3 separate regions of the Homo sapiens genome follow, and all the other regions are linked to region 2. The links are contacts of gene promoters, found by promoter capture Hi-C in blood cells and fetal thymus (Javierre and others, 2016). All regions are on one chromosome and are shown on one strand. The core of a region is centred on a gene start or on the middle of the fragment in contact, and the rest is flanking DNA. Distances in the headings are between cores, read along the strand shown.

Evidence for each region. Contacts are between HindIII fragments. The CHiCAGO score rates a contact against its expected background, and 5 or more counts as called.
Region 1: a contact is called between a fragment that was not itself captured here and the fragment with the promoter of MICU1 in region 2, in 1 of 17 cell types (erythroblasts). The highest score is 5.3, in erythroblasts.
Region 3: a fragment that was not itself captured here is called in contact with the fragment with the promoter of MICU1 in region 2 in 1 of 17 cell types (erythroblasts); the score reaches 5.0 in erythroblasts.

What each region holds. Positions count from the first base shown.
Region 1 is chr10:73,064,854-73,069,848 of GRCh38, forward strand. P4HA1 (prolyl 4-hydroxylase subunit alpha 1) reads right to left here. Exons shown (of 15, transcript NM_001017962.3): 5 at 3,993-4,130. Among named protein-coding and RNA genes, the nearest start is that of P4HA1, 30 kb to the right of the region's middle. The HindIII fragment of the contact is 4,527 bases long and covers 1-3,671 here.
Region 2 is chr10:72,624,764-72,629,111 of GRCh38, forward strand. MICU1 (mitochondrial calcium uptake 1) reads right to left here and starts at 1,316. Exons shown (of 12, transcript NM_001195518.2): 1 at 1,247-1,316. RefSeq lists enhancers at 1,083-1,620, 1,171-1,320. The HindIII fragment of the contact is 6,741 bases long and covers 1-4,348 here.
Region 3 is chr10:73,092,018-73,096,615 of GRCh38, forward strand. The region is part of intron 1 of P4HA1 (prolyl 4-hydroxylase subunit alpha 1); the gene reads right to left. Among named protein-coding and RNA genes, the nearest start is that of P4HA1, 2.5 kb to the right of the region's middle. RefSeq lists an enhancer at 4,230-4,598. The HindIII fragment of the contact is 1,464 bases long and covers 2,609-4,072 here.

The DNA.
Region 1 (4,995 bases), core at 158-2,657, 440 kb after region 2:
AATCGATTTTTATGGTTCATCCGTTAAACTGAGAGAGACATCATCCGTTAAACTGAGAGAGACACGTAATCCAAAAATTCTTGCACTTCACAAGAACACTTAATGGATCAAAACTTAATTTGTAAGGGATAATTATGTTTAAAATGCACACACTTAGAAGTTAATGTCCCACCTCTGAGGCAGTGTGGTACACTGATAGCTGAGTGAGCTCCAGAGATGTCTGGAGAATCTACTGTTTGCTATAGTTACCTTATTAACTTACCAAGACAGTGATGCAAGTGACCAGAAGGGTGAACATTCAACTTCCACATGAAGCAAATTGAATTTTGTACATATGACATTTTCTATTACTGACCCCCACCCCCTAAAAAAAATCACAGCTTAAAAAAAAGCATGATATCTTTGGCAGATATGGATCTATTCAACAAATCAGGGTTGGGAACAAACAATCTGAAAACTGAAGGAAGTCCTTAAGAACTATAAGGACAACACTGATGTCAAAATGCATGTAACCTATCAGATTTTTCATTAAAATACCAACAAAGCATTTCAAAAGATAGGCCCAAAGAGGCAAAAGAAACAGATGAAACTAATCAAGGAGTGATGTGGCATCAATATAAATTCACTAAGCATTTCTCTGACTTTTTTGTTTGAAGAAAATTTAAAATACATGCATCCTTCCTCCCTCACCCCCACCATTTCACACCCAGATTGCTAAAATTTTTAAAGTCTGACAAAACCAAGAGCTGGCAAGGATATGAAGAAATGGGAACTCTCATACAATGCTGGTGACAGTATAAATACATGCTCTGGAAAGCAATCTGGCCACATCTGGTAAGTATGATGAAAAACCAAATACCCTATGATTTCTTATACCCTAAGAGAAAGCCTTGCACGTGAGTACATGGCCACAAAAAGAAATCAACAAAGATGTATCAAACTTCATTTGATAAAGCAAAAAATTGGACAAAATCTAAATGTACATCCATCCACAGAAGAATGAATAAATAATGTTATACAATACCACATTAGCAGTTAGATGAATCTGATCAACACAGATAAATTTACTGAAAATATTAGGTTAAAAAAAGGTTGTAGAAAGATACATAGAGTATGATGTACTATTGACATAAAATTTAAAAACACAATACAATGGAAAATATATATGATAAAGTATAAAAAGATGACAGGATACGCACCAAGTTCAGAATAGTCATTACCTCTAAACAAGGGAAGGTGCACAAGAAGCCTTCGAACACATTTGTGATATTTGACTATTAACAACAGAAAATAATCTGGGTTGGGGGAGCCTAAAAACTCTTATGCTAGTATTCATGCTATTATTTTTACCACTTATAGGGTATAATGTGATTAGGAAATTTCAGTTATTCTACTTATAAGGAATTTGCCTGAAAGAAAAGTCAATAAGAACTAGCCCAAAACTGTGATAAAAGAGGAAAAAAGTCAACAAGGAGATAAAAAGCACCTGAGAAAGAATGAATATTGCCCCTAAGACTAAACACAGTGAAATCAGGGTTAAATAATATTCAGGACCATTTTGATGGGAATATAATCATTTTTTAAACAAAACACATATAGTAATCTAAATAACATTTATTACCCACCACCACACATTTGGGAGGCTGAGGTGGGATGTTTTCTTTTTTGCTTTTTGTTTTTTGAGATAGGGGTCTCACTCTGTTGCCCAGGTTGGAGTGTAGTGGCGTGATCACAGCTCACTGCAGCCTTGAACTCCTGGGCTCAAGTGATCCTCCCGTGATATGGTTTGGCTCTGTGTTCACACCCAAATATCACCTTGAATTTTAATAATCCCCACCTATCAAGGGCGGGACAAGGTGGAGATAACTGCATCATGGGGGCAGTTCCCCCATGCTGTTCTTGTGACAGTGAGTTCTCATGAGATAGGATGGTTTTATAAGCACCTGGCATTTCCCCTGCTGGCCCTCATTCTCTTTCCTGCCACCCTGTGAAGAAGTGCCTTCTGCCATGATTGTGAGTTTCCTAAGACATCCGTAGCCATGCGGAACTGTGAGTCAATTAAACCTCTTTTTTAAAATAACTTACCCAGTCTTGGGTATTTCTTCATAGCAGTGTGAATACATCCCACCTCAGCCTCCCAAATAGCTAGGACTACAAGCAAGCACCACAACACCCAGCTAAGTTTTCATTTTTTTGTAGAGTCAGGGAATTGCTATGCTGCCCAGGCTGGTCTTGAACTCCTACCCTCAAGGGATCCTTTCCACCTTAGCCTCCCAAAGTGCTGGGATTACAGGCATGAGCCACCATGCCAGCCCTATTTTGTTAAATGGAATCTATCCAGTTGATGAAGCCAGAAATTCCTATCAAGTACATCATCAAATTCTACTATTCTACTCTAATAAGTAGCTTGATAATCTATCCACTACCACCTCTTACTTAAATATTTGCAACAGCCTCCTCCCTGGTTCTTCGTCCCTTGGCCCCAACCCAATCTCCATTCGGCAGCCAGAATGGTTTTCTAAAAGGAAAAATCATAAATTTCCCTTACAAACTTTTTAATAGCTCCGCACTGCACTCAGGACAGTTCAATCTCTTCCACATGGCTTACAAAGCTCTCCAAGAGATGGCTTCTGCTTACCTCTCTAGTCTCAGCTCTCACTACTCTCACAAAGCCAAACCCCCATATCCACCTGGTGCGTTCACCTCTTGAACTCTACATTAAGCCATACAAACTACATGTTAGTTATCTGAATATGATATGCTCTCTCCTTTTGACCTTTCTACATGTTCCCTCTGTCTGAAACACTTTTCCCACACCCACTCCTGTCTCCCTCTCCCCCATTTTTCTGGCTAATTCCTGGTCCATTAGATCTCAATTTTTTTAATGTGTATCTTCCAGGAATTCTTCCTTTACATCCCTTATGAGGTCCAGCAATAGGTTTCTTTTGATGTGCTCATATGGTATCCTGAATTTCTCCCATCCAAGCACTCATCTTACTATACTGTAAGAATGTTAAATACCCTAATGGCGAGGGTAGTGTATGTCTTGTTCATTATGTGTCCCCAGTACCTAACATAATAGCTGGCACATATTAAGTATTTAATATCTATGAAAACCTGAAACCAATTTTAAAAATAAGGTTATAATCTTATCAAAAGCGTTATAATGTATAATATTAGTAGAAACTGAAAATTTGCAAATTTGTACATTTTTGGAAGTTCAAATTAATGGAATTATATTCCAGCTTAACAGAAATTTTATTTACTATTATACCATGTTTAGTTTTTACCAACGGATACCTTCACCTCAAATAAAGGGAGATGAGCAAGAAAACATTTTGATTAACAACTCATCCCAGTGATTTTTTCTTACGGAGAAAATCAATTTCAATGTGAAGACACAGACAACATATTTTATTTCTGCAGCTGACAATAACAGGAGATAGTAGTGGTAATGAGTCACAAACTTTGAAAAAGTGAGGGACGGCAAAAGTAAATTATCATGAAAGCAACTGTAACTTAAAAAGAGGACTTTGCCAAAAATAGGTCAGAAAGTAGGATGTTCCATACTATGGAACACTTTAAACATATGTGGATACCCAAAACATCTTGGCTTTTAATTATTTAACATATAAACTTTGACTATCAATCCCTTATAGCTTTACATACAAAGCTTTCAAATAGTATTAGGTGTTCTGAATAAAAACATTTGGTGAAATGATAGTTTCTTTTCCTTACACACTAAAATTCCCTACTTAAGTTAGTCTCTATCAATACAAGCTTTCAGAGTAACAAGCTAGAAGCTAGAAGCATACCCGTAACTATTAAGCCCTAAGAGAAAGGGAAGGTGATTCTTTAGTCTTCGAAGGCTATGAAACAAACTACAATTTAAAATCTTAAAATGCAAGTCTTTTTTATACTAACATTGTGTTAATGGACTCAACAGAGAAGCTAGGTGATAGGTATTTTATAGAATGGAAGAATGATCTTACCTGGAAGATTACCCTTTGAGATGGTATCTGTATCCAAATTGTAGGTATCCTGGAGACGTAACAGAGCTTTGGCTGCCCCAACCTGATCTTCATCATTAGGAAAGTACTGTCTCTGAATGGTTAGGTTAGAGATAAAGCCTTGAAATAGATAAATCAAAGAAAAAAAAACTGTAGAACCTCATAAACTTCCCATAAAGAGACTTAATAAGGATTGTTCAAAATCTATTTTATTATTTTCTACCACACCATGAAAAGTTCTACATACTCAACAAGAAAAAATTAAATACACTGAATAAGACTTGGCATACTTCTAACTTGTTCAATCTTCCAAAAGCCTAGTGTTGCTTAAGGACTGTGACGCTGTTATATAAATTGTATCTGTATTAGCAGGTAAAGATCACCTAACATAATAGTTATGAGTTTTTAGTTATATAACACAGCAAGAAAACAAAGTGCATCCACTAAGTTTGAGAAATGAACACATTTATGGGTCTGAAATGACATTCATTGACAATCAATTATACTTCCAGATAACAGATGGTAAGTAAAATATGTGCTCTTAAAGTTGTTTTTTTCTTCCATGTATTACACATTATATAAATATGTAAATATATAAAGTTTGGTGGAATTCTTCAAGGAGAAGGAAGAGATATTAACTATATATTTAAGATCAACAGCAAAGCTAGTTTACTAAAATATATTTAAATCAGTTTAATTATCAAACATGACGTTGATCAACCAAAATTTACAATATATAAACCTAATCTTAGAGGATTTATATAAAGTATGCAAAAATCAAACAAACCAATTACTGATAACTATATAACCCCAAGAAGAATGAATGCTAAACACTCCTTAAGAAATAAAAAATTGGTTTAAAATTTTAATATCAGTATCATTACTTGTGAATAAAAGTTAGGTATGAGACTTCCCTCTCTTCTCATTAACTTATAATCAACTGTTTTGTTTTTTTTTTTTTGAGACAGTCTCACTCTGTCATCCA
Region 2 (4,348 bases), core at 66-2,565:
TCTTAAGTGGAAGAGACAATCAGGGACAAACCAAGGATTGGGACAAAGAGTAGCTGGAGGCAAAAGCCACCTTCCTACAGACAAGTGGCAATGGGTTCTAAAGTTTTTAGGATAAGGCAATATTCAAAAAGCTCATTACCTGGTCCACACCAGAAACACAGTAGGTGGGTCATTCTGGCCAACACCTTTGTCTCAAGATACTGACGTTTATTATTTGTCATATGGTCCAATGAAACCTAAACTCTCCTACAGCTATCCACACCGAACTTGTTTCACCTCATGAAATGCAAACTCCTTTCTTATACTGCTCGATCACTTCCCTACGTGCCCCAAAGGGATGTTCTAATATAAACAAAGGCATATCAAAGAAGCCACCCAAACAAGTGAGATAGAAACATTTATTGATAAATAGGAAGAAAATGGGCGTTTCTAAGGTACCACAGGAAAAATAAAATATTTTACTCTAGTCCCTTAGCTATAAGATATTTATTCTACTTATATTTACTAATGGCCACCGTATTTTTTAAGACATGGAAAATTGGAAGGTAAAGAAACCATCAACCATAAGATTACAGAGAAGGCAACTTGAAGAACAGTTTGTTTTAAACTGTTCTCCCAACATTCACATAGAGTCAATAACATCTAGCTCTTTCTCAAAACAGCCTATGGCCGGCCAGAATGCGACGGTGAAAACAAAACAGGGAGAACGTAATGAAAACGGGAAGGCGCTGGAAAAGATAAAAACTGAACAGTCCGAGTAGCCTGCACTTTGTATTTCTCCTTTGAGTCCTCACTGATTTTCCACTTATTTCGATTCAGTGGTTAATATTTCTCCGTATTAGAAATCCATCTGTGAACTCCCGCACCCACTTCTAACCACATCCACAAATTCCAGGAGAGCCAGTCAAGGCTACCAGAGTGTCCCAGTCGCCTGTGAGGAGGGGGGCGTCGGCGCCAAGTTGCGAACCCGGCACTGGGAGAAGTTCTCCCGGGACGGGAGAAGGGACGGGTTGGGGTGAAGGAAAGTGGAGGACGGGAGGCAAGCAAGACTACGGACTCCTCTCCAAAAGCTGAGCGCATCAGGGAGAGACAGGTATCCCGCCAGACCCGAGAAGTAGCCGGATGCCCGGGGCGGACAAACGGCCAGCCACGAAGCCCAGTTCCCTAAGGCTGTCTCGCCAACCCCCTTCCCCTTCGCCTTCCCTAAATTGCTGTCTCCTTATACCCTCCAGAGTCCAAGACTCACGCGTCCAAACACGAGCTCCAGCAGCCTCTCGGTCAAAGCCGCCCACCTCTGACAGCCATAGAGATGAAACAGCGGAGACAAACCTCCACCCCCTCCGCCCACTCTCACGTGACTCTCCTAGCCGCTGGGCCTGTCGGGATCGTGGAGACAGGCGTGTGGGAGGGGCACAGAGGAAAAGGAACGGGGAGGGGCGGGGAAATCAACGCGCCACGCCCCAGCCTCGGGCCCCGCCCTAGCCCCGTCACTCCCCCTTACTCCCCTCAGCGTTTAGGCGGGAAAGCTGGAGAGCTCCCAGAAGCTCTCGGGCATTTCTTCTGGTTTTTTTCCCCTCCACAAGGGTCATAGGAATCTGTTGAGAAATTTACTGTGGCTTGTAACACCTCCTCGGTACCCGTTTTCGTGTTGGCTATGTTGGCTAAGCAAAAAGGAGTTCGTGAAAAGAAAACTGGACCACAGTGAGTTGGAAATTGTTTCTTTCCAACTCCGTTTAGGTTTTCTCAGAGATTAAATGTTCCTGTTTCATAACCTTGAGACTTTTTTGGATTTAGAAACCCTCACCACTTCCTCTGGTGGATGATTTTGTCAGGTGTTTTATTTGCAGACTAATATTATTGCAGAGTTTATAATCTCTAGAAGCCACTTAAAAACATGTTTTCCCTTGAAGAATGTGTTTTTTGTTTGTTTGTTTGTTTGTTTGTTTTGAGATAGAGTTTCACTCTTGATGCCCAGGCTGGAGTGCAGTGGAGCGATCTCGGCTCTCTGCAATCTCTGCCTCCTGGGTTCAAGCGATTCTCCTGCCTCAGCCTCCCAAGTAGCTGGGATTACAGGCATGCGCCACCACGCCCTACTAATTTGTATTTTTGGTAGAGACGGGGTTTTTCCATGTTGGTCAGGCTGGTCTGGAACGCCCGACCTCAGGTGATCCGCCCACCTCGGCCTCCCAAAGTGCGAGGATTACAGGCGTGAGCCACTGCGCCCGGCTGAAGAAGGTGTTTTTATCAGAAAAATGGGATGGCAAAGGATCCTCACCCCTGCTGTGGAAATAGGATGGAAATATGACTATAATACCAGAGAATTTTTTTGGGGGGGGGGCAGCGGGGTGTTGGTTGGTTGTTTGTTCGTTTGTTTTGAGACGGAGTCTCGCACTGTCGCCCAGGTTGGAGTGCAGTGATGCTCACTGCAACATCCTCCTCCCAGGTTCAAGTGATTCTTCTGCCTCAGCCTCCCGAGTAGCTGAGATTACAGGCACGCCCCACCACGCCCGGCTAATTTTTGTATTTTTAGTACAGACGGGGTTTCGCCATGTTGGGCAGGCTAGTCTCAAACTCCTGACCTCGGGCGATCCTCCCGTCTCGGCTTCCCAAAGTGCTGGGATTAACAAGTGCGAGCCACCTCGCTGGTCCCAGAGAACTTTCAAATAATTTTTTTTTCCCAAGAATTTACGTAGCAGAGCTGTGGAAAAGGCAACAACCATGGAAACAAAGCCAACAAAACCATCCCTGGGGTAAATTGTGAAGTAAGCAGAATCAACTCTGTTTTCTCCATTTCTTCTCAGACCCAACTAACCTAAGTACAATAGATGATTGTGTTCATGGCTCTGTGCTAGCGCTTTACATACAACCCAGTGCTTGTCTACAACCACTCTAGGATGGATACTGTTTTATTCATTTGCAGATAGGGAAGCAGGCTGACACCCCTAGGTAATGCAGTACATGCAGTAGCGGGACATAGACCTGACCTGAAGGCCTCTGAGGCTTCCACTCTTAAATGATGTAATTCAGGCCGGGCGCGGTGGCTCACGCCTGTAATCCCAGCACTTTGGGAGGCTGAGGCGGGCGGGTCAGGAGATCGAGACCATCCTGGCTAACACGGTGAAACCCTGTCTCTACTAAAAATACAAAAAATTAGCCAGGCGTGGTGGCGGGCGCCTGTAGTCCCAGCTACTCGGGAGGCTGAGACAGGAGAATGGCAGGAACCCGGGAGGCAGAGCTTGCAGTAAGCCAAGATCGTGCCACTGCACTCCAGCCTGGGCGACAAAGCGAGACTCCGTCTCAAAAAAAGAAAGAAAGATTTGCTGAAATTCAATTCTAATTTTAGGCAACATTTGTCTATATAAAACTAATCAGTCAAACTAACTGTTAAATAACATTTAAAAACATAAATCATTGTTTCTCAAACGTTTTGGTCTTAGGACCCCTATACACTTAAAAATTATTGAGGACTCAAAATAACTTTTATTTATGTGTGTTATACCTATCGATATTTACCATATTCGGCCAGGCAGAGGCTAATACCTATAATCTCAGCATTTTGAGAGACTGAGATGGGATGATCACGTGAGGCTAGGACTTTGAGGCTACAGTGAGCTATGATCATGCCACTGCACTCCAGCCTGCGCAACAGCGCAAGAACCTGTCTCTATAAACTTTTTTTAATTTAGCATATGAGGACTTAAAATTGAGGCCGGGTACAATGGCACCCAGCACTTTGGGAGGCAGAGGCGGCAGATCACCTGAGGTCATGAGTTCGAGACCATCTTGGCCAACATGGTGAAACCCTATCTCTACTAAAAATACAAAAATTAGCCAGGCATGGTGGCACACGCCTGTAATCCCAGCTACTCAGGAGGCTGAGGTAGGAGAATCGCCTGAATCCGGTAGACAGAGGTTGCAGTGAGCCAGGATCATGCCACTGCACTCCAGCCTAGGCCTCAGTGACAGAGCAAGACTCAGTCTCAAAAAAAAAAAAGAGAAAAGAAAGAAAATTAAAATTGAAATTATTTTAATGTGTACTTAGTCATTTAAAAATAATAGATCCATTATATGTTGACATAAATAATGTATTCTTAAGAAAAACAACTTCAAAAAAAAAGAGTAGCATGGTTTTACATTATTGCAAATTTCTTTTCTTTTTTTTTGAGACAGAGTCTCACTGTGTCGCCCAGGCTGGAGTGCAGTGGCACGATCTCGGCTCACTGCAACCTCTGCTTCCCGGTTTCAAGTGATTCTCCTGCCTCAGCCTCCTGAGTAGCTGGGATTACAGGCGCATGCCACCACGCCCGGCTAATTTTTTTGTATTTTTAGTAGAGACGGGGTTTCACCA
Region 3 (4,598 bases), core at 2,091-4,590, 470 kb after region 2:
CTTTTATTTCCACCCAGTCTACCTCTTTCTAGTCTTCAATTATCTGTTTACTCTAATGCCAGATCCAAATTTCTCAAGTTGAGGTAAAGAGAGACAAAATAAGACCATGTATACTAGAACAGGGAAAAATGAATTCATGGTTGTAGAGGATGTGAATCTAGATATGCATTTCCATTCAGTGCTACAGATTTAATATCTAGTAAAATGTTAGCCACATGGTGCTATATCATGTAATTTTTATGTCCTACTTCTCCTATGAAACATTTCTCATCATTCTTGATTTTCCTACAGTCTACTGGCCATATTGTAAATAATTTTTTTTTCTTTTCTTTTTTTTTTTTTTTTTTTTAGAGACAGGGTCTTGCACTCTCACCCAGGCTAGAGTGCAATGGTGCTATCATAGCTCACTGCAGCTTCCAACTCTTGGGCTCAAGCGACCCTCCCACCTCAGCCTCCCAAGTAGTTAGACTACAGATGCATGCAACCTCATGCCCCCTTAATTAAAAAAAAATTTTTTTTGTAGAGAGATGGGGTCTCACTATGCTGACCAGGCTGGTCTTGAACTCCTGGCCTCAAGTGATCCTCCTGCCTCGGCCTTCCAAAGTGCTGTGATTACAGGTGTGAGCCACCATGCCTGGGCAACATAGTAAGGCCCTGTCTCTAAAAAAAAAAAAATTTAAATATAAATTTAAAAATTAAAAAATTGGTTAAAGTTTACTGTAATTATACAGGTTGATAAAATAAACCACTAAATTACAGTCCTCTCTTTGCACTACTTATAATGGAGAAACAGCTCAAGTGTCCAACAAGAGAGTAAGGATGACCAGGCATGGTGGCTCACACCTATAATCCCAACACTTTGTGGGGCAGATGGGAGAATCACTTGAGGCCAGGAGTTCGAGACTAGCCTGGTCAACAGAGCAAGATCCCATCTCTACAAAAAATTAAAAAATTAGCTAGACATGGTGGCATGCATCTGTACCCCGAGCTACACCCGGAGGCTGAGGCAGAAGGATTGCTTGAGCCCAGGAGTTCAAGGCTGCAGTGAGCTATGGTCACACCACTGCACTCCATCCTGGGCAACAGAGCAAGATCCTATCTCTTAAAAAAAAAAAAAAAAGAGAGAGTAAGGCTGAGTGTACTAATTCCACATAATATTACTATTTAAGAAAGAAATGAGTAATATGGACACATTTTTATGAAACACTAAACATGAGGAAGAGAAAGGCCCAATATAGAACTCATTCACTGATGACAACTAGGTAAGAAGTCTGAATCTCTATAATGTATTTTTAGCAAATGTCAAATCAAATATACTAACAGTCATACTGATCATCCAAAGGAAGACCAGGAAAAAGAATGTTTTTCACCACACCGAGTTTAAAAACTGCTGGAGTAACCTAAATGAGAGTCCTTTTGAATTGCCAAAGCTTTTCTTTAGGTACAATACTTATTCAACTAGAGAAACTGAAGCTGTCCTAATGACAGGACAGCTTCAATTTATACAAATAAATTTTCTTGAATAGAAACACAAAGCTTTGGCCGGGCACGGTGGCGTGATCACACCTGTAATCCCAGCACTTTGGGAGGCCAAGGCGGGCAGATCACGAGGTAAAGAGATCGAGACCATCCTGGTTAACACGGTGTAACCCCGTCTCTACTAAAAATACAAAAAATTAGCTGGGCGTGATGGTGGGCGGCTGTAGTCCCAGCTACTCGGGAGGCTTAGGCAGGAGAATGGCGTGAACCCGGGAGGTGGAGCTTGCAGTGGGCCGAGATTGCACCACTGCACTCCAGCCTGGGTGGCAGAGTGAAACTCCATCTCAAAAAAAAAAAAAAAAAAAAAAAAAAAAAAAATATATATATATATATATATATATATATATATATACACACACACACACACACACATACTCATTTTATTTGGATTTTTTATATATATTCATATATTTATACACACACAACACATTATGGTTTAATTACAAGATTCAAGATCTCACTGCAAGAAAAGCAATAAAGTTTAATGCCAAGAGCCTATGCAATTTATTTTTGTTTACTTCCAAGCCTGTTCCACTTTCAGAATGGAAAACCAAAGTTAAGTTACCATATATAGGAGAGGGCATGCAATGTGATATACTTTCACAGACTAGACAATTTAGCATTTCAACAATTCTAACAACCTATTAACTTTTGTTAAAACCCTTTTGGCAAAAATGTATTAGGGTCACCCACATATACAAGTCCAGTCAGACTTACATGCCCAGCTCGATTTTCAGAAACATTCAATACTGCCTCAAGACACCTAGATACCCTTAGAGAGTAACTTCACATCTCTTACTTTTTAGGGGTTCTTATAATAAAGTTCATGAATGGACTTGAGTGGGGGGGCAGGAAGTGACATACAAAATTCCATGTAGGGTGTATTTGCATTTTCTGACATAGGACCACACCTTTCATCAGATTCTCAAAGGATTTCATGACCTTAAAATAGTTTGAGAACCACTATTATGTATCTCACAGGTCAATTCAAGAGCAATAATTATATCCTAGTTGATAACTGGTTGCTAAGTAAAATAAAGCATTCCTTCCACAGAAAGGAAGGCTCACAAGCTTTATGGCTGTCCCAGCTCTTGCTGCATCTCTGGAATAAATGCCGTTTGAACTTAATTGCCCTACTGAAAAACACTGCTTTTCAGTATACAACTTATTCTGCACTAATAGAAAAGGTTAACAGCTCCTTGCCAAAAAGCCAAGATTCATCTGCAACAACCCAGACTACAAGGCAATATAAAACTTTTTTTCAATAGTCTTTTGCACTAATTTTTTTGGCATAATTAAAAGTTGTACACATTTTTCAACTGTTTTACCATCTAAGTTACCAAAACACAAAATGGCCAATGTAATTATCCGCCTACCAAAGTCCTGATTTTCAGTACTTCAAAATAAAACTCATTTCAAAATGTCAATAAAAACAGCACTACCCATTTAAAAGAGACAGAAATAGTCCTTTTCCTAGTTAGTCTATGTAAATCTAAGAAACATTTGTCATCAGCTATCAAAAACAATGGCAGGACTTAAGGCACAATGTCCCAAAACCAAAACTGACTATGAATTTTATTAAAGGTAAGTGATAAAGTCTCTTTTCCCACATAAAGAAAAAAGTAAAATTTGAAGTTCACATTTCAGATTCTTAAATTACGCTCACAAGCTAAAAAAAAAAAAAAAAAAAAAAAAAAATCACGGGGTGTGTATTCACATTTCACATGAAGACAAAATATAGTTGAGGTTGTTCACTTTCAGCTTCTTGAATATATCGTCTTAGGATACCGATTTTCTCCATAGAAACTTGATTCTAAAAATCCCTTTAAAATGTTTTTTAAATTAACTTCCAACGTTCCTGCTATGCAGACTGAATTCTTCATCTGATTATTTTAGGAAAAGACTAGCCTCATTCATAAGCTACGTCTAAACCTAAAAGGGGAAATACGTTTCTAACCAGAACTTTAAAAAAAAAAAAAAAAAAGAGTAAAAAATTGATGAAAGAACGCTGCTGCCACGTCTTTGCCCCTCCCCCCTTCACGTAGTGGCTATTTCATCCCCTCCGAGTGCATTCCAAGCGAAAGTCCGAGAACCACTGCTCTCGGAGAAACCAGAAACAGTTAAGTGGAAATTGGCAAGTCTCTTTGGCCTTTTAGATCAATTCCTAAAAGAGGATCTAGCTGCTTCTTCAACCCTTTCTTAAAGAAAACAGTGCAAAATTCCAAGAGTCTTCACTCTATCCGGAACGCGTAAGATGTTAGTGTCTAAACATTGAATTTGTATGTAACAGAGTCGATTATTTAGGAGAAAGAGTCTCACAGTTATCATACCATCCTTCCTCCCCATTGAAACATACATCCGGGGGCCAGCCATGTAATCCAACTCAAAATCCTCACACAACCATGGAATTTGTTGGACTGATGTGGACTTTTAAAAGCTGCAAATTCTCGGCAGAGAGAGACAGAGAGACAGAGATTGAGAGAAGAGCTCTTGTCTCTTTTTAAAAAAAGTTATGGGGAAGAAGAGGGAAGGAAGCTTCCCTGACGACGAGGTGACCTGAGAGCCTACTTCCTCGGCGCTACGAGCAGAAAGCTCGGCGCCCCGGGCTACGTCTGGCAGCTAATGCTGCACCGCTGCGCGCAACAGATGAGTTCAGCCGGAACTTTCTGGGGAGGTCCCCCCAGCTCCCGGCGACTTTCGATAGGGCAAAAATGCCTGGCGCGCTGCGGATCCAGCTCCAAGCCTTAAAATCCGCTCTCCACCGCCACATGCGAACCATCTGCGGCTGTGGCGGCCAAAAGCCCACGCCCCGCGCTTGCGTTCCCCTTAGCCTCGTTAGGGAGGACCAGGTGCAGGGGAACTTGGAAAAAAAAAAAAGCAACAGAGTGATTCCTCCCCGGGAAGGAAAATTCAAGAAAGTCCTGGTCCCTAGGGCGGGGACTGAGGCTGCAGCAGCCCCAGCGGTCCGAGGCGCACTAGGGACAGAGGTGGGAAGGGGGGCACGAAGGAGCGCGGGCGCCGGGAGTCGCGTGGCGCAGGGAGAGGGGCCGAGTCTCCCG